Regions from separate parts of the Homo sapiens genome. Here all the other regions are linked to region 4. The links are contacts of gene promoters, found by promoter capture Hi-C in blood cells and fetal thymus (Javierre and others, 2016). All regions are on one chromosome and are shown on one strand. Each heading gives the region's core, a stretch centred on a gene start or on the middle of the fragment in contact. The rest is flanking DNA. Distances are from core to core; before and after follow the strand shown. Region 1 overlaps CDIN1 (CDAN1 interacting nuclease 1). Region 2 overlaps CDIN1 (CDAN1 interacting nuclease 1). Region 3 has its middle 23 kb from the start of CDIN1. Region 4 holds the start of DPH6 (diphthamine biosynthesis 6). Region 5 overlaps CDIN1 (CDAN1 interacting nuclease 1).

Region 1 (3,782 bases), core at 463-2,962, 1.1 Mb after region 4:
TTCTTTCCTGAAATTGTTACTTAAGCTCCCACTCTCTGGGCCAAGATATTTAAGTCCTATTTAAAAATATTAAAATATTCAGTAGGCAGCTAAGTGCTTAGTCTACTGTTCTACTTAACACTAAATGAAAGTAAAATATAACACAGACATGGAGCCATTTGTTATATTTTAGTATATGAAGCAATGGCTGTGTAAACCTTAACCTTGTAATTTTGTGAGTTCCACTTTATCATGTAGCTGTAAGGGTAATCAAAATAAATCACAGGAGGTGAATAAATATTTTCTAGTGCTTTCTCAGTGCTTTAAGAAGTGATGCTTGATCCATGAAATTTTAGTAAGTGTATTAAATAAAACAATATGATGTGCACTGTGTCAGATCTGATAAATTATTCGGTATAGGACATTTATACAACATATGTTGAGCTGCTACGTGAACAGCTTAATGACTAAATTATGTTAATCTGTCTTGCCATCTTTATATTTTGTTAAAAATTGCACTATTTGTATTATAGATATTTATATATTTGTGGGTTGGGGCAGGGATAAGAAGAAGGCATAAGAAAGGTGCAGGTCAGCTCCACGATGTTCTGACAGTGATCCAGGGCTCCTCAGCTGTGCAGTGTACATAACACAGATGTTGGGGAGTCATCTGTCAGCCATGCCTCTCCTATGGAGTTAAAGTTCTAGAGGGAAAAGAATTTGACACAGTGCTGTCACTGTTACATTTTCACAATAGAAGAGCATGCAAATATTGAACCTCCTGCTTAGCAATAGTGCCCTGTCTAATGTCTGTGCTGGTTAGAATAAAAAATCATGGGTGCATCTTGGGCTCAGAGATCTGACAAAGGTCATGCTATGTTGGGCATTTGAATTGGAAATTGTCTGGACTTAGATTTTATAAAGCTCCCACTGTTGTGTGTGGGGAGAATTTCAGCAGGGTTTTGTCCCTGGAGAGGCCTCTTAGGCCCTTTTCTGTCCTATGAATGAATTTAGATGTGAGGGTTACTCCTGCCTTAAAACTGTTAAGTTCATTTTGCATACATCCCTAGAGAGAAAAACTGGCAGATGCTTTTGTCTTGGAAGTGTTTAAAAGAAAACTGCAGAGCAGGAACAAGGGAGAAAAGGGGCCCTGTGTGGAGTCCCAGAACATTTTGGAAATGGCCAATATGCAGTTTTCATCAGTATGAAGGCGGGGTGCAATATGGTGCCTGTAGTTCACGAGGGAATATGAATGTTGATTAAGCATACTCCCAGGCTTTGAAATTCTGAAAGCAGTGTCAGAATAATGGATGTTGAGCAAATGTCAAGCATTTGTTAATTTCTCTGTTATTTGGAGTTTATCTACCATGATCAATCAAATAAACTAGTGCTTCTCTCTTGTGGCATGTGTCATTGATATGGTGATTAGGTGGCTAGAGAGACCTTCTGCTTTTTTTCCAGGTAACAGATTATAAACGAGTAGACAGAGCTTTTCAGTTAAAGATTTGTTTATGGCTTGGTTTAGTAGAAATTTGTATATTAACTGAATACTTTGGTGGCAGTGTGAAAATCCGTGGCCACATGTCAAAGACATAAATTCTGGGACCATTTATACCAGGAGAACTAGTATTGGAGGCATGTTTTCCATCAAAGTATAGTTTTCAGTAGTTTATGAAACTTTGATGTAAAACTGGACAAAAGAAATGGATCCTAGATGAATGCTAACCTTAACATTTGTAGATAGACTTTTCAATCCATTTTTATGTCATTTTTCCTATTTCAATGGTTAATTCTAAGTTAGTGATTGACTTTTATTCGTGAGTGAGAGTAAATTTGTTTCATGTGATTCAACATAATTTCTATTATTTTTAGGAAGTAATGCTACAGTGTTTTGATGTCCCAAGTAGGGGTATCAAAAAAAAAAAAGTAAAAGGTTCCTTTCAGAGTTTACTTAACTGTGGATTATTGTGCAGTGCTAACATTCTGCAGTGTGAGGAGTTGGTTCCCTTTTAGAATGTGAATGACTTTACCAACTGGGATTTCATTAGGGGTTGAGACTAGGTACGATGTGTAACTGTCCTACCCTTCAGCACGGGGTAACTTGGACTGAAAAGGGACCTTTATGTGAAATTTTAGTGGCTGGAATCAAGGTAGATTTGTGATTGGAGATTTGTCCTTTTTCTATACCCCATTTTCTTTTCGTAGTCTTAGGCTTGTAGCTTACATGATTCAGATGGAGACTAGTGTAATACTTACCACCCTTGACCATGTCCAACAGGTACCTCTGTGGTCTTTGGCATGGATATTTTTGCAAAACGACCTACTGAGGTGATCTGTCACCTATTATTAAACCTCATGAACTTGTTTTTTCAGGGGATTCACAACTGAGCAGCCACAGGGCATTGTAAAACCCCAGTGAACTAACTACTTGTGTGATTTCTGGAGCTCTTTGGTTTTCTCAGTCTGCCATGAGGTCACAAATATGGCAGTTTCCAAAGCAGAACATTTTTAGCTTCCTCTTCAAGCTAAGCTGCTTTATCTTAACTGTCTACATTAGACCTTTGCTTTTGGCCTTCTCTGGGACTGGAATTCCTAACCGTATGAGTAAAATCCTCGTGTCCTGCCTGGCACACAGTGCTAGTGAGCTCTACCATTGTACTGCCTCCAGCATCATAAAAATAGACAGCAGTGCTGATTGACTTTTCTGGGCTGCTCTCTGAAAATTCGTCATGAACCTGACACGATCATAGCATCACTGAATCATTAACTTGCACCATACACCAAAACACTCAGGGTTTTATCGATAGCAGCTCTCAATTTTTTTTTGTATTCATAGTGATAAAGCTACTATTATTCCTAATTGGGATTAGGAAGACATGAAAAATCTTGTTAGGGTGTTGAAAAATTATTATGTAACAGTAAGAGGGAAAGAGTTTGAATTTCACTTACTGTGAATTCTTAAGCGTATGTGCTCAGCGTGAACGCTTCCAGCCACTCCAGTGGAAGGGGCTGATGGTTTTGGTTGGTGGTGTGCCCTGTGCCTGCCAGGCTATCAGCGCCTGCATCTTGTCTTCTACTTAACTCTTCTAATGTCCTCCAATAACCAAACTTTTATTTTCCCTCACATGTATTGCAACTATAAATTAATGGCTCACAGTTTTAAAAGTGCTATAATGAATACTATTTCCTACTGCGGACACATTGTAATGATAGCAAAAACACTTTTGGGACTTCTCTTTTGGCAAGTATTTTTGGAGTGTGTGACACAGTGTCTTTGGTACTTTTGAGAATGGAGACAAAAGGCATTATTAAGTTTGAAAAATAAGGGGGCTGATGTTACTAGGTGACCATAAATTCTAGAGACATAATTATTTTGCCATGTGTTATAATTCAATAACAATAAATCCTTTATTGTATTTATCTGTGTTTCTAGACGTGGTGGCCACCCTGTATTTTGGTGAGATGTGAGATGTGACTGTGAAGTTGGTTTTCTTGTGTAACTGGTAAAGTGGTTCTAAAGTGATTCTTAAAGATAAGTTGGGCTGGGCGCAGTGGCTCACGCCTGTAATCCCAGCACTTTGGGAGGCCGAGGCGGGCAGATCACGAGGTCAGGAGATCGAGGCTCGAGCCATCCTAGCTAACACGGTGAAACCCCGTCTCTACTAAAAAAAAATATATATACAAAAAATGAGCCAGGCGTGGTGGCAGGCACCTGTAGTCCCAGCTACTTGGGAGGCTTAGGCAGGAGAACGGCGTGAATGCGGGAGGCAGAGCTTGCAGTGAGCCGAGATCATGCCTCTGCA
Region 2 (3,910 bases), core at 748-3,247, 1.1 Mb after region 4:
TAGTGATCAGTTCATCCCAATTTGGACAGTTGTTAACATGGAAGAAATAAAAAAGTTGACCACAGACCCTGATGTAATTCTTGAAGTGTTAAGTTCTTCTCCCATGGTACAAATTGATGAGAAGGGTAAAAAAGTGAGCCAAGTCATAAGCGTTGTATTGTGATTCTTAGAGAGATTCCTGAAACAACACCAATAGAGGAAGTGAAAGCTTTGTTCAAATTGAAAACTGCCCCAAAGTGATAAGTTGTGAGTTTGCACACAGTAGCAGCTGGTATATCACTTTCCAGTCAGACACAGATACACAAAAGGCTTTTAAATCCTTAAGAGAAGAAGTTAAAACATTTCAGGGCAAGCCAATTATGGCAAGGATAAAAGCCATCAATACATTTTTTGCTAAGAATTGTTACTAATTAATGGATTCTAGTATCTATAGTCAGCCCATTCAGACTCAAGCACAGTATGCCTCCCCAGTCTTTATGCAGCCTGTATATAATCTTCACCAGCAGTTCTCGGTCTATAGTATTATTCCTCAGTCTTGGTCTCCAAATCCTACACCTTACTTTGAAACACCACTGGCCCGCTTTCCCAATGGTAGTTTTGTGAATGGCATTAATTCACCAGGATCTTATAAAAGACATGCTACTGCTATGAATATGGGTCGACCATTCCAAAAAAAAACCTGAAGCCTCATTTTAGGTCATCCAGTGGTTCAGAACACTCAACAGAGGACTCTGTATCATTGGGGGATGGACAATTGAACAGATCTAGTTCAAAAAATTTTTCAACTGAAAGCATAATCCTACAGTAACTGGGGATTAGGAGCAAACTTAACTTCAAAAGGAGACTTCCACTTTGCAGATGGAACAAAATGGGGACTATGGTAGGGGCAGGAGAACTCTTTTCAGAGGTCGAAGATGACGACAAGATGTCAATCTCAAGACCTCATCCTTCAACAGCTGAATCAAAGCCTCCAACACCAAAGTTTGACTTACTAGCCTCAAATTTTCCACCTTTACCTGGAAGTTCATCAAGAATCCCAGATAAACTCATTTTGGAGAATAGGATGTCTGATGTTGTTAAAGGTGTCTACAAAGAAAAGGATAATGAAGTGTTGAGAGTTAGTTGCCCAGTGCCTGCAGATGAGCAGACAGAATGCACTTCTGCCCAGCAACTCAGTATGAGTACCAGTTCTCCATGTGCAGCTGAGCCTACTGCATTAAGCACAACTCAGCCAAAAAAAAAAAAAAAAAAAGGATCTAATAGAGGATTCCTCTGTTCAGAAGGATGGTCTCAACCAGACAACTATACCAGTTTCTCCTCCAAGTACTACAAAGCCATGGAGGGCAAGTACTGCCTCACCATGTAATCGTAACATAAATGTAGCTACACCGTGACTCTACAGGAACCCTGAAAGTTAAGTTATGCTGAAGTGTGCCAGAAGCCCCCTAAAGAGCCATCTTCAGTTCTTGTGTAGCCACTATGGGAACTTCGCTCCAATGTAGTGTCTCCCACGACAAACAAAGACAATGAAGCTCCTTAGAAGTCCCTTGAGAAACCAAATGAGAAGCCAGAAGCAAGGGCTAGTAAGGATTATTCTGGCTTCTGAGGCCATACCATTCCCAGGGGAGCAGCTGGAAAAATCAGGGAACAGAGATGCCAGTTTAGTCGTAGGGCTATACCTCAGGGAGTGACATGACGTAATGGCAAAGAGCAATATGTGCCACCCAGATCACCAAAGTAAAAAACAACAAAACTATTCAAAAACTTCTCTCTCTTCCCGTTAAACTTGAGCTGTAGCTATATTGAACTGTTTTGGAGGGGAGAGGGTAACCAGGAAGGAAACAGGAGAAAGTACATCCTTAAATCATTATGGATTTTGGAGTTGTGAGTGATAGGATCCCAAAATTCATCTCTGATGTGATTTATAAATGCTGGAGGATTTCTATCTATCTATCTATCTATCTATCTATCTATCTATCTATCTATCTATCCATCCATCCACACACACATATAAAGTGTATTTTTTCTATTTTTGTTTTTGGTTTTAATTTGCAGAGATTTGCTGCCAGGAATCAATTTTGAGGGTTCAGTTTCAGCTTGGAGGAAAAAAAAAAACAACATTATACATCCTTCAGTATAGGAGATGAGGGAGTGAGAGGAAATATTTTTTGAAGAAGCATTTCTGTAAAATTAGAAATTACTTTTTAAAATCTATTTAAAGTTTGGCGTGGAGAATGCCATCTCTGATTATATGGCCTTGTATTGCAAAGCGGATTAGTGGCTGGGGTGCCTGTTGTGGGTGTGAGTGTGTACAAGAGCGATTGAAGCAAAATCTGTTGTCATGTTAGTAAATGATTTGAAAACTGAATGTAAAACTTGAGTAGATTTTTTTTTTTTAGTTTGAAATTGAGTCTGTCTTTTTGACCTTACTAATATTTCCTTCAACAAGTTGTAAAACTGTGATTGTACTTGGACATGTGACTACTAATCAGTTTGATACTCAAGGAAAGAATGGGGTTTCTTAAAAACATTGAAAATTTCGGCCGGGTGCGGTGGCTCTCGCCTGTAATCCCAGCACTTTGGGAGGCCGAGGTGGGCGGATCACGAGGTCAGGAGATCGAGACCATCCTGGCTAACACGATGAAACCCCGTCTCTACTAAAAATACAAAAAATTAGCTGGGAGTGGTGGCGGGCGCCTGTAGGCCCAGCTACCCGGGAGGCTGAGGCAGGAGAATGGCGTGACACCGGGGGGCGGAGCTTGCAGTGAGCCGAGATGGCGCCACCGCACTCCAGCCTGGGCGACAAAGCGAAACTCTGTCTCAAAAAAAATAAAAATAAAATAAAAATAAAAATAAATTGAAAATTATCTTGGACCTCAGTGTGTAGGTGAAATATATTTCAGAGTCTTAAAATTCCCTGTGATTCCCCCTGCTAAAATGGGAAACAATTTTTTTTTCTTACTCCATATGTTATTCTCTGTTCTTTGACTGCCCATCCCCAAAAGCAAAATAACCAACTACTTACTGAATTATATTTGTCATTGCTTTGACCAGTCTAGTCAAATCATATAAATTGTTCTAAATTTCAGAATTGAACATTGAAGTATTTACTCTTCTGTTCACACATTGAGAATTTTAGGTCCCAAGATGGTAAGGCGGACTGACCTTACAGTAATTTATTTGCTGTCAGTGTTAAAGATGAAACATTGTGACTGACTCTTAAGTGTTAAATAGTGTAGAAGTAAAATATTATTTTTTTTTTAAAGGCTTAATTTTGGGGGGGGACTTATTTCTGTTTACAGTGTATTTATCACCTTCCTTTCCTCCTCTTCTTCCCCCACACCCAAAAAATACAGTTTGGAATTCACTGAAACAGAACCAGCAAGTCATGAGATTTTTTAGTAAAGATGAGAAAGATGGTTGAAGAAAATTAATGCATAATTTCTCAGTGAATCAAGTTGTAGCTCTCATATACTAAATACACAAGTTTACATGCTGTTATTTAGAAAATGGCTAAAATATTAAAAGCCATGTTGTGTTTATCTGTTTTAAGTCATACCATGTTTAGAGTTCTATGTAAGGTGGGTTTTATTTTTCTTTTAAGGGATAATTTGTAATAGTAAGAACTGTCCCATATGTTAGATTATGTGTGTACAATTACGTGTAAATTGTGAATACTGGAAAGCACCATTGTGACATAGCGTAAGCATCTTGGTAATATATTAAAGTGAATGTAAATAGTGGTTAAAATTACATTACTGTGAAATTCACCTTCCAACTCTAAGTTAAGCTTTGGAGATACGTATTAGCGATTAACTGTTAAGAGCTTTGAAAACACTGCACGTATCTGTACAAGCCAGAATTACTATTTCTTTGACTTATTGTTAGCATGGCAGTTGTTTTTGATTTG
Region 3 (3,937 bases), core at 1,193-3,692, 1.0 Mb after region 4:
TCAAGCGATTCTCTTGCCTCAGCCTCCCAAGTACCTTGGATTACAGGTGTGTGCCACCATGCCCAGCTAATTTTTTTTTTTTTTGTATTTTCAGTAGAGACAGGGTTTCACCATTTTGGCCAGGCTGGTCTCAAACTCCTGACCTCAGATGATCCACCCGCCTCGGCCTCCCAGAGTTCTGGGATTACAGGCATGAGCCACCGTGCCCAACCTCAAACCCTTTAAAAATATAAGAAGGAACATTTCTTAACTCATTTTATGAGGATCCTATTACCTTGATATCAAAACTAGGTAAAGACACTACAAGAAAAGAAAAATACAGACCAATATCCCTTAACAAAATACTAGCAAACCAAATCTAGGAGCATATTAAATGAATTAAATCTTGTCAAGATGATAAGCAGTTTATCCCAGGAATGCAAAGTTGGTTCAACAGGAAAAAAATTAATCGATGTAATACATCATATTAGTAGAATAAAAGGGGGAAAACCCCACATGAGCATCTCCATAAACAGAAGGATGCGATAAAATCTAATACCCTTTCATGATAAAAACACTCAACAAACTAAGAATAGAAGGGAACTTCCCCAGCCTGATGAAGGTAATTTATGAAAAACCCACAACTAACATTACACTTAATGGTTAAAGACTGAAAGCTTTTTCCTTAAGATCAGTAAAAAGACAAGGATGTCTACTCTTGCCATTTCTATTCATATCATTAAGGGAAATGATATAGAAAGCCCTAAAGGAGTAAAAAATATGAAACCTATTAGCGCTAATAAACAAGTTCAATAAAGTTCCAGTGCACAAGATTGATACACAAAAGTAAGTTATATTTTTATACATTAGCCAGCAACAATCCAAAAATGAAATTACGAAAACAACTTACTAACAATAACATCGAAAATAATTGAATAGAAGTAAATTTAACCAAGGAAGTGAAGAAAACTTCAAAACATTGTTAAAATAAATTAAAGACCTAAATGAATAAAAGGTCATGCTATATTCATTAAGTGAAAGACTTAATATTGTTAGGATGGCAGTACTACCGAAATCTGTAGATTCAATGAAATCTGTGTCTGTATTAATGCAATCTATACATCTATAGTCAATTTGATTTTTTTTTTTTTTTTTGGAGATGGAGTCTCGCTCTGTTGCCCAGGCTGGAGTGCGGTGGCACCATCTTGGCTCACTGCAACCTCTGCCTCCTGGGTTCAAGTGATTCTCCAGCTCAGCCTCCTGAGTAGCTGGGATTACAGACACACACCACCACACCTGGCTAATTTTTGTATTTTTAATAGGGACAGAGTTTCACCATGTTGGCCAGGCTGGTCTTGAACAGCAGCCTCAAGTGATCCACCTGCCTCAGCCTCCCGAAGTGCTGGGATTACAGGCATGAGCCAGCGCACCCAGCTCAATTAATTTTTGACAATGGTGCCAAGACTATTCAATAAAGAAAAAATAGTTTTTTTAAGAAATGCCACTGGGACAATTGGATGTCCATATGTAAATAACTGGACCCCATACCTAACACCACATATAAAAATTAATCTCAGAATTGACCAAATACACAAAGCTTATGGAAACATAGATGTAAATCTTCATAACCTTGGATCAGGCAATTTTTCTTTTTTTTGAGACGGAGTTTTGCTCCTCAGGTGATCCTCCCACCTTGGCCTCCCAAAGTGCTGGGATTACAGGCATGAGCCACCGTGCCCAGCCTGGGTGATATTTCTTAACTATGATACCAAAACATAAGCAACAAAACAATATAGATAAGTTGGACTTAATCAAAATTAAAAATGTTTGTGCATCAAAGGACACTCTCAAGAAAGTGAAAAGATAATCCACAAGGTGAAAGAACATTTTTATAAATCATATATCTGATAAAGTTCTCATGCCCAGAATATATTTTATATAAAGAACAATAAAAATTCCTCAAAAGTATTTAAAAACAAGTGAAGTAAAAACAGACAAAAAGGAACAATGAAAAGTCAATCTAATTAAAAACTGGAAAAAAGACAGCCAGGCGCGGTGGCTCACGCCTGTAATCCCAGCACTTTAGGAGGCAGGTGGATGGATCACCTGAGCTCAAGTTTGAGACCAGCCTGACCAACATGGTGAATCCTCGTCTCTACTAAATACAAAAAATTAGCTGGGCATGGTGGCACACGCCTGTAATCCCAGCTACTTGGGAGAGTGAGGCAGGAGAATCGCTTAACCTGGGAGATGGAGGTTACAGTGATCCGAGATTGTGCCATCGCACTCCAGCCTGGGCAACAAGAGAGAAACTCCATCCCAAACAACAACAACAACAACAACAACAACAACAACAACAACAACAACAAACTGGACAAAGGATATTTTGGACAAACAGCTATTTCTCCAAAAAAGATATACAAATGGCAAATAAATGCATGAACAGGTTAGCCACATCATTAGTCATTAGGGAAATGCAGATCAAAACCACAATGAAATATACACTAATAAAACATACACTTAATAAAATATACACTTAATAAAACATACACTAAATTGGTTATAATTTTACAAATAGGAATTAATAACTCTTGGTGAGGATATGAAGAAATTGGAACCTGCATACATTACTAGTGAAAAATTCCAATCTTATGTATGTACCCAAAAGGACTGAAAGCATATGTTTGCACAAAAACTCGCACATGAGTTTGACTATTTTTTTCACATTGAATAGTCTTGGCACCATTGTCAACAATCAATTGACTATAGATGTATAGATTTAATTAATATAGACATAGATTGCATTGAGTCTATAGATTTGGGTAGTATTGCCATCTTAAACAATATTAAGTCTTTCAGCAATATGTTCATAATAATCAAATAATGGAAACAAACCAAATGTTCATCAACTGATACACGGATTTTTAAAATGTGATATATCCATACAGTAGAATACTATTCATTGATGAAAAGGAGTGTGTAATGATACAGGCTACAATATGGATGCACCTTGAAAACATTATGCTGAATGAAAAAAGTCAGACACAGAAGGTTACATATTGTTTAAGTTCATTTACATGCAATGCCCAGAGGAGGCAAATATATAGAAACAGAAAGTAAATTAGTGGTTGCCAGAGAATGGGGGAGTTAACACATAAAAATCCCATTCTATATGCCAAGTCCTCTGCTAAGTCCTTTGCAGATATTATCTCATCTGTTCACTGCAGATAGGTACAAGTATTATCCTGCTTTTATATTATATCTGGCAAAATTGGAGCATGAAAATGATTAAGTAAATTCATACATCTAGTATGTAGCAGAACTAGAAGGTAAGCTTAGGTCTTGCCAACTTTAAGCCTGGAATCTCAAAGGTGGTATGCAGGAGCTGAATCCTACAAGCTTGAAAACTAATTGCCTGCATCTTTTCCCAACTTCAAGTTCAGTAACTTCATGTTCACAGACTGAAATTGGCTATGGTGGAAATATTATGTATTTACATAGTGGAAATTGGCAAATACTACAAATCAGGGTTGTTTTTTCTGAACAGTTTACTAGCTCTCAACCACTATATTAATCAGCCTCCATAGGCAAATAAATATAATGGCTTATTTTAAAAACACCCAATTAATACATTAAGAAAGTTCTATATATTAAGTCAAGAGAAAATTCATTTAAAATTTTGGGCTATAATCTATCCACTTTATACCTACTATATACTGATATAAACAATTTTTCTAATTTTGGATTTGTGAGATGTTTTATTCCAAAATTCACATGTTATCGCAAGAAATTTTTAGAAAGGTAAATATGGTGATTTGTAATCAGAACTGGGTATCAGAAACTACTAATATCCACATTGTTATGTATGTTTTGCCATTTTCTGGAGTAGGCTATTAGCTGGAAACCTGAAAAATGATTTATAAATACTAAATATATAATTTTTACCTGAAGTATTTTT
Region 4 (3,863 bases), core at 286-2,785:
ATAAGCATACAGGTAAATGCTTACGTATTCATACTTACAGCATATGTCCTTACAGCTCTTACGCTTCAGCAAGAATTTTCCAACATTGCTTTTTTAGCAAACTTTTTTTATTATAAAGCAACATATGCACATTACAGGTTATTTAGTGTAACTGACTCTACCAATCTTCTCTCCTCCCCTCCAATACTTCTAAGTCTTTGTTTGTTGTGCTTTACTTTAATCGTTAAACTTTTGGCAAGCGATGTAAATTTGAATTATTCACTTCCTGGGGTACTTTTAATTCTTAAAATAAGACACAATGGTTAAAGCTTAATCATTTATGTTACAGAGGACATTTACTGAACAACAATAATTATTGTGACATTATGGTCTAGTCTCCTAAAAATGACATTGAAGGAAAGGGAACCGGAATATTCCAGACACTACAGTAGGTCTGAAATCTCATATCAAGTCCTTAATAGGTCAAAACTTACAGCCAGTATCAATTACCTAAGGGACTTAACGAAAACGTTTATGAAATCTTCAATTGGATTACAAAAGCAAGCACATCGTTGCACTGTATCTAAGACACTCTACAGGGCAAAATCTCATGAAACAAGTATTTAAGTAGTCTAACTTTTTAATGTTGCTAGTGTGTTCCCTTCTGCCTCAGTTTATAGATTGAGTATGGAAATATTTAAGCAGGTTTGTTTTTGGTTTGTCAGTCACAGGACTTATTTAGACACTTAAATTTATGATTTGGTTACTACAGACATCAAACTCCTTTTGGAATACGGAGTATAGGGTAAGGTCACTCTAAAGCAATGATGAGAGTCCGAAGCAACAGCAACTGGATCTAGCATAAGACTAGTACAATTCGGTCTCTACCACGAAGAGAGATCTCTGTACTTGAGTGCCCAAAGGCAGAAACACACACATGCCATAAGCAATCCACATCTGTGAAGATGAGGGAGGGGTGGACTTCTTGGGATGGGCGGAAACACTTACAACTAGGGAGGAAGCCAGGCTGCGGCGGACCCAGCTGACCAAAGGAACTACAGAAGAGGACGAAGAAAGCGAGGGGGAAAGGGCGAGGGTTATTAACTGAGTTGATGGAATAAGGTAGTGGCTCCAAACTTCACGGCTCATTAGAGCTTGAAAAAAAAAAATCAGACGCCGGGTCGCACAGAAGTAATTAAACCAATCCCTCTGGCGGTGGGGCCCAGGCGTCGGTACTTTTTTTAATTTCCCACTTGAATCCAATGGGAATCCAAGTTTAAGGGCTAGAAGACCAGAGAGCGACAGACAGGGAGGAGGCGCGCCAGCCAGGGGCCGAGGCACATGCGGGCCGGCAACAGCGAAGGCTCCGCCTCTTCCTGTGGCTCGGAGGAGCCGCGGAACCCCCAACGCGCGACTCAGACGGAGACACCCACTCTTTCGGCGCTAGCGGCGGCTGGAAGGGACGAGAGCCTGGCCTAGGAGGAAGGAGGCGGCTCCAGGACCGCATTACCTGATCAGAGCCGCGACCCTCATGCTGGGCGCAGTGCGCGTGCGTGCGGCGAGCGCGGGCGGGAGCCAGGAGGTCGCGCCGCAGCTCGCGTGACGCACCGCGGGGCCTCGCCCGGGTGTTCGCTCCGCCGCCTGTCCGCGGATCGGCGCTGCGAGCCCCGCGGCTGCCTGCGGGACACCTGAGCGCGGAGGGTGCGGCACCTTGGCACCTTGACCCTGTGGCAGGGACATCTCGGCCCAGGAAAGAATGAGGTTTAGGCACGGCCTAACCACCTAAGTGAGGGCACTGAAGCTGCCGGGGGAAGGGCAAGGTCCGCGTTGCAGAGCCCAAGCCCAGTGGCGCAGGATTTGTTTTGGTAAGAGGGGATTTAGCGTCCCAATTGCTGCAAATTGACACAGTTGCGGACGTGCAAGCGCAGAAGAAATTTGTCCTTCCTCACCCCACAGAACAGAAACAACTGTACACTTCTGCTTTTTAACTTACATCTCCTCTGTCCTCCAAACCTGTGTGTCCAGATGTGAAACTCAGATCCCCAGGGGCTGTGGTAATTTTTAAATCTGGGGCTAGCCCCCCCCACCTCTAGGCCCTCTGTGGCTTTGGCTCTTGGTCAAGCTTGTGTATTTGACAAGGCCAGGCCAGGCTCTTCACCAAAGAGCAATGGCCTTGCAGAAAGAAAATCTAGCTTCTAAGTTTATTTGCCAAGTATGTATTGAGTGCCTTTCGTGTACCAGGCACTGTTTTAGACTCTGTGGATACAACCGTAAATAAAACAAAAACCCGGCATTCCGGGCATAGAGCTTAAATGGGGATGGAGAGAACAGACAATACATATCTTAAAGGTAAATAGTCTGTTGAAGAGTGAAAAGTGCTATTGGAAAGGGGCGGGGTGCGGTGGGGGAGAGTCAGGAGAGAGGTGGAGAGGCAAATTGCAGAATTAAATCGTGTCTATGTAGGCCTTATTGGTAAGATGAGAGTTGAGCCAATTTAAATAAGGAGAGTTCGCTATGTGTATGATTGGGGTGTGCTCCAGACAAGAAAAAAAAATCGAAGGCTCTAGGTGCGTTGTGTGTTTGTGGAAGATTAAGGCAGATCCGTGTTGCTGGAGCAGATTGAGCAAAGCAGAGAGTAGTGGAGAGCAGGTTAAGGTGATGGAGGGGAAGGATTATATAGGGTCTTGTAGGTAATTGCAGACTTTTGAAGGGTGTGACTTAAAATTTTAAAAGGATTGCAGTGTTGAGAATCCACCTATTAGGAAGCTGTTACAGTGTTCCAGTAGAGAGATGGCGGAGCCTAGAATCAACATGGTGAATTTGGTGAGAAGTAAGAGGATTCCAGCTCTATTTTGAAGATAGAGCCAATAGAATCAAATTCGATATGGGATACAAGAGAAAGAAAGTCATGAGGGATGATGCCAAAGGCATGAATTAAGTAAGTTAATATATGTAGGGAACTTAAAATTATGCCAGGTACATAGTAAGCATTCAATTTTATTTTGACATTCTCAACTCTAATAGTAGGGGTGACTAGAGCAGTGACAGTCTACATATCAGTTTTAGCGTCTAGAATCATACAGCTTTAAGATTTTGCAGTTATGAATATTTACCAAATGAGTCAAGTATTTAAGAAGTTTGCAGTCTAATTGGAGGAGATAAATACGTGAAACACACTTAAAATGATACAGCTCCAATGAGTGGAAGAAGCACCAGGGCTCTCGTCTCATGCCGAATTGGGTAAAATGACACAGACACACATGGAGTGGTTTTAAGGGGTGGAGAATTTAATAGGCAAGAAAGAAGGGTGAAGAAAGGAAGAAGCTCCCCTGTAGAGACACATGGAAGTGGGCTCCAAAGCCTAGAGAGGAAACCCCCAGTGCTGGGGTTAACAGGCAGTTATATGAGGAGACTGGAAGAGGCGGTGTCAGATTTGCATAGGGCTCAGGGGATTGGTTTGACCAGGCATGTCATTCACATAGCCCACGAAAAACCTGGCTCTCCCACCCTAGCCTTTTAATATGCAAATGCAGGTCGCCTTGATGTTCTACACGTGTGGCGATATGTGGGGATGGCCATGTTGCCAGACACATACAGGGGCAAGGGCAAGAGGACAGCGGTGGCTATCGCCATGTTTGTGTGGACCCAGTTTCTAATGGCCTGCATTTGCATATCAAAGGTCGCCAGCCGGGCTCTAAGAGCAGGGGCTTTCCTGCTAGACAAGAAACATTTCTGGAGCTGCTTTAAAAGAGACAAAAACTTTCCAAGGACCCCTTTTCCTATCTGCCTAAAATTATTTTTTTAATAAATCCTATAACAGTAATCCAAGATAACACATTTTGAAAGTAACAAGTTATGTAATGTGTATGGCAAGAGTCCCATGA
Region 5 (3,479 bases), core at 771-3,270, 1.0 Mb after region 4:
TAAAGAGCTATTTAGGGCTGGGTGTGGTGGCTCACGCCTGTAATCCCAGCGCTTTGGGAGGCCGAGATGGGAGGATCACTTGAGGCCAGGAGTTCCAGATCAGACTGGGCAACGTAGCAAAACCCCGTCTCTAATAAAAATCCAAAAAATTAGCTGGGTGTGGTGGCATGTGCCTTTAGACCCAGCTACTCAGCTACTCCTGAGGCTGAGGTGGGTGAATCACCACATCAAGGTGATTGTTACCTTGTTGCATTACAATCCATTGGCCTATTTTGAACTTGAATGGATCTTTTACCCATGCCTGATTTGTTATCATCGTGCATTATTCCTTTGTAAAATGTTGCTTGTGAGTTGTGCAGATCTTACAAATGTCACCTTTCATTATACAATATCAAAAAATTACATTTGTTAATATCATCTCTAATCTCATCAGAAGTCTGTAAGATTTGAAGCTGTCAAGCTTGTGGTGATGGATATGAGCATTCCAGTATTTGAATTTTCCCTTGAAAGCTCAAATTTTATCATTGGCAACAAATGCTATTAGTTGTTTTCCTTGAAATGACAGGCTCACATTGTTTATTTTTGAGAAAGTGTCTGCCAGATACTTAAATCTGAATAATATACTTTGTTATCATTAATTCAAGTAAAAATGGTGTTCCCTAGAAAAAGTAGCTAGTTCAGCTCTCAAACAGTCATACAAGTGCTTTCCTGGGAGGCAACCATCATACTTTGATATGAAGTATATGTGCTTTGTATTTACTCTAGTCATACAGAATGTTAAAAGGTTGTGTATTCAAGGGTTGAGATTTAATGCAATTAATAAGAGAATATTCTTTAGTGAAAGTCTTGTTTTGTTTTGTTTTTCCTGCACGTGTGTGGCAGTGAATACAGTGACTACTAGTACAGTTATGATGCCTATGATTTGTGCCTTGTTTTATGCTCAGGAGCTGGCAGTTTTACTCACCATTGTTTTTGTACCATAAGTCCAAATGTGAATACAGCGCAAAAGGAAAATACTATCTTGCTATTTTTATAAAAATAGTCGTGTTGACCCTGTAGACCTGTGAGAGGGTCTCAGGGACTCCAAGTCCACAGCCACACTTAGACAATCACTAGCTAATTCAAATCAAAGCATAATTATGTTTTCAAGGATTTTGATGTATACTGACAAATTTAAAAAAATTGTACTAGTCCTTTTACTAGCAGAGCGTGAGAGTCTCTGTCTCTGCAACTTTTCCAGTATTGAGAAGAGTCATTATTTAATCTTTAATATGTTCGATCAAGAATGACATCTTGTAGTTAGCATTTTAAAAATTATTATAGGTTGTACCTTTTTCCAAATTTTTTTGACCACTTAATTTTCCTTTGAATTACCTGTTTGGTATCCTTTGCCTAATTTTCTGTTGGCATGTCTGTTGTTATTGTTTATTGATTTATTACTTATTGATCTGCATATGTTCAGGATGCTGGTCCTATATATGTCATATTTGTTGCATAAATTTTCTCAGTTGTTTGATTTTAAATATTGTTCTGCTTTTGATATGGTTAACTTTTAAATGTATGCTTTTTTTTTCTGACATTTTTGCCTTTATACTTAGGAAGTTCTTTTCTGTCCTAATATATGAAAGAAAAAAATATTTCACCTAAATTTTCTTTTAGATTCTTTATGGCTTTGTTTTTTATTCTTAATTTTTAAATCTTTCTGGCTGAAATTTATTTTAGTAAATGCTGAGAGGTGAAGATGTAGCTTAATTTTTTCTCCAGCTTAATTTTTCCTCTTACTGTGACTTCTGGGGTAGCCTCACTTCTTCATGGCTTGTTTTGACTGAAGTTACAAAATTATGTTTTTTCAAGTCACTGTGTTTTACGTGGTCTCAGAATCCTTCACTTTAAAATGAAGGAGTAGGACTTTGTGATCTGTAATATCTTACAACTCCAAAATTCACCCTCATTCTATTTTCGTTTCTACAGTTTTACCATACAGTAAGTCATCATTTAATGTCTTCGGTAGGGCTTTGGAGACTGCAACTTTAAGTGAAACAATGTATAATGAGAGCAATTTTACCATATGCTAATTGTTATAAACAAGAATTAAGTTCCTATAGCATATTTCTGGTCATAATAACATCACCAAACTTCTAAATAAAGACCCAAGGCTGGGCACTGTGGCTCAAGCCTGTAATCCCGGCACTTTGGGAGGCTGAGGCGGGCAGATCACGAGGTCAGGAGATCGAGACCATCCTGGCTAACACAGTGAAACCCCGTCTCTACTAAAAATACAGAAAATTAGCTGGGCACGGTGGCGGGCGCCTGTAGTCCCAGCTACTCAGGAGACTGAGGCAGGAGAATGGCATGAACCTGGGAGGCAGAGCTTGCAGTGAGCTGAGATGGCGCCACTGCACTCCAGCCTGGGTGACAGAGCAACACTCCGTCTCAAAAAAACCATAAAAAATAAAATAAAGACCCAAAACACATCTAATATTAAACATTGAAATTAATGTGAGCCTAAACAAGTAAGATAATTATTTACCCAATTTTTGGTGAATCAGTGAGTGATGGTGGTCATAGTGGTGGTGGATTAAATCTAAGAGTATGTGTTTGCAAAGTGAAATTTGTGAGAAGCACCTCTTACCACCATGTATTCAAAAGCAAACAATAGCCTGTTCAACAGAGCGAGACCCTGTCTCTTCAAAAAAATTTAAAAATTAGCCAGGTGTGGTGGTACATGCTTGTAGTTCCAGCAACTCAGGATGCTAAGGTGAGAAGATTGCTTAAGCCTGGGAGTTTGAGGCTGCAGTGAGTTAGGAACGTGCCACTGCAGTCCAGCCTGAGCCACAACAGTTAGACTCTGTCTCTAAAAACAAAAAACAAAAAGCAAACAATAACAAATGTGGTGAGCTTGCTGAGCACTTGTGTACTGCATCTTTATTGTCATGCGTTTGTATGATTATCATAGATTTATGAATTTTTATTTTACAGTAATTTGTATTCATTCATTTATTCACTTATTCATTCATTTATTTACCAACCCGCTTATTCCAGTTTAGGATTCTGAGTGGCCTCTGGCAGCTCAGGCTGCAAGGTATGAAGCCATCCCAGCACGGGACACGCTCACACACACTCCCATACTCACTCACACTGGGGCTATTTAGACATGCCAGTTCTGCAGACACGTACATCATTGAGATGTGGAAGGAAACCAGAGTACTGGGAGAAAGTTCACGCAGACGTCAGGAGAACATGCAAACTCCACACAGACAGTGGCCCCAGCCAGGAAACAATTTTTAAAAATACTCATCAACTTTATAACAAAATAATGTTGAACAAAATAACGTTATTTGAAGACTTTCTGTAATGGGCCCTTTGGCACCTGAAACATAGGACATACTACATTTGAAGTACTTGCTGAGGACATATTTATTGATTGACATTTTTTAATCTTTCTTGTGGACATTCTTAGAAGCCCCTGGTCCAATCAG

Evidence for each region. The method cuts DNA at HindIII sites, captures the fragments that hold promoters and counts their contacts. A CHiCAGO score of 5 or more calls a contact.
Region 1: a contact is called between a fragment that was not itself captured here and the fragment with the promoter of DPH6 in region 4, in 2 of 17 cell types (total CD4 T cells and activated CD4 T cells). The highest score is 6.1, in total CD4 T cells.
Region 2: a contact is called between a fragment that was not itself captured here and the fragment with the promoter of DPH6 in region 4, in 1 of 17 cell types (fetal thymus). The highest score is 6.9, in fetal thymus.
Region 3: a contact is called between a fragment that was not itself captured here and the fragment with the promoter of DPH6 in region 4, in 1 of 17 cell types (activated CD4 T cells). The highest score is 5.3, in activated CD4 T cells.
Region 5: a contact is called between a fragment that was not itself captured here and the fragment with the promoter of DPH6 in region 4, in 11 of 17 cell types (naive CD8 T cells, total CD8 T cells, naive CD4 T cells and 8 more). The highest score is 28.1, in naive CD8 T cells.

Annotation. Positions count from the first base shown.
Region 1 is chr15:36,599,172-36,602,953 of GRCh38, forward strand. The region is part of intron 1 of CDIN1 (CDAN1 interacting nuclease 1); the gene reads left to right. Among named protein-coding and RNA genes, the nearest start is that of CDIN1, 21 kb to the left of the region's middle. The HindIII fragment of the contact is 7,589 bases long and covers 1-3,782 here.
Region 2 is chr15:36,617,529-36,621,438 of GRCh38, forward strand. The region is part of intron 1 of CDIN1 (CDAN1 interacting nuclease 1); the gene reads left to right. It also overlaps the pseudogene LARP4P. Among named protein-coding and RNA genes, the nearest start is that of CDIN1, 40 kb to the left of the region's middle. The HindIII fragment of the contact is 3,582 bases long and covers 207-3,788 here.
Region 3 is chr15:36,554,482-36,558,418 of GRCh38, forward strand. No RefSeq gene overlaps it. Among named protein-coding and RNA genes, the nearest start is that of CDIN1, 23 kb to the right of the region's middle. The HindIII fragment of the contact is 1,737 bases long and covers 1,575-3,311 here.
Region 4 is chr15:35,544,630-35,548,492 of GRCh38, forward strand. DPH6 (diphthamine biosynthesis 6) reads right to left here and starts at 1,536. Exons shown (of 9, transcript NM_080650.4): 1 at 1,490-1,536. The coding sequence starts at 1,512. It overlaps DPH6-DT (DPH6 divergent transcript), which reads left to right and starts at 1,566. Exons shown (of 3, transcript NR_038251.1): 1 at 1,566-1,844. RefSeq lists enhancers at 537-1,471, 3,459-3,753, 3,522-3,863 and silencers at 1,519-1,658, 1,959-2,008. The HindIII fragment of the contact is 1,793 bases long and covers 307-2,099 here.
Region 5 is chr15:36,581,581-36,585,059 of GRCh38, forward strand. All of the region lies in intron 1 of CDIN1 (CDAN1 interacting nuclease 1), which reads left to right. Among named protein-coding and RNA genes, the nearest start is that of CDIN1, 3.7 kb to the left of the region's middle. The HindIII fragment of the contact is 3,124 bases long and covers 459-3,479 here.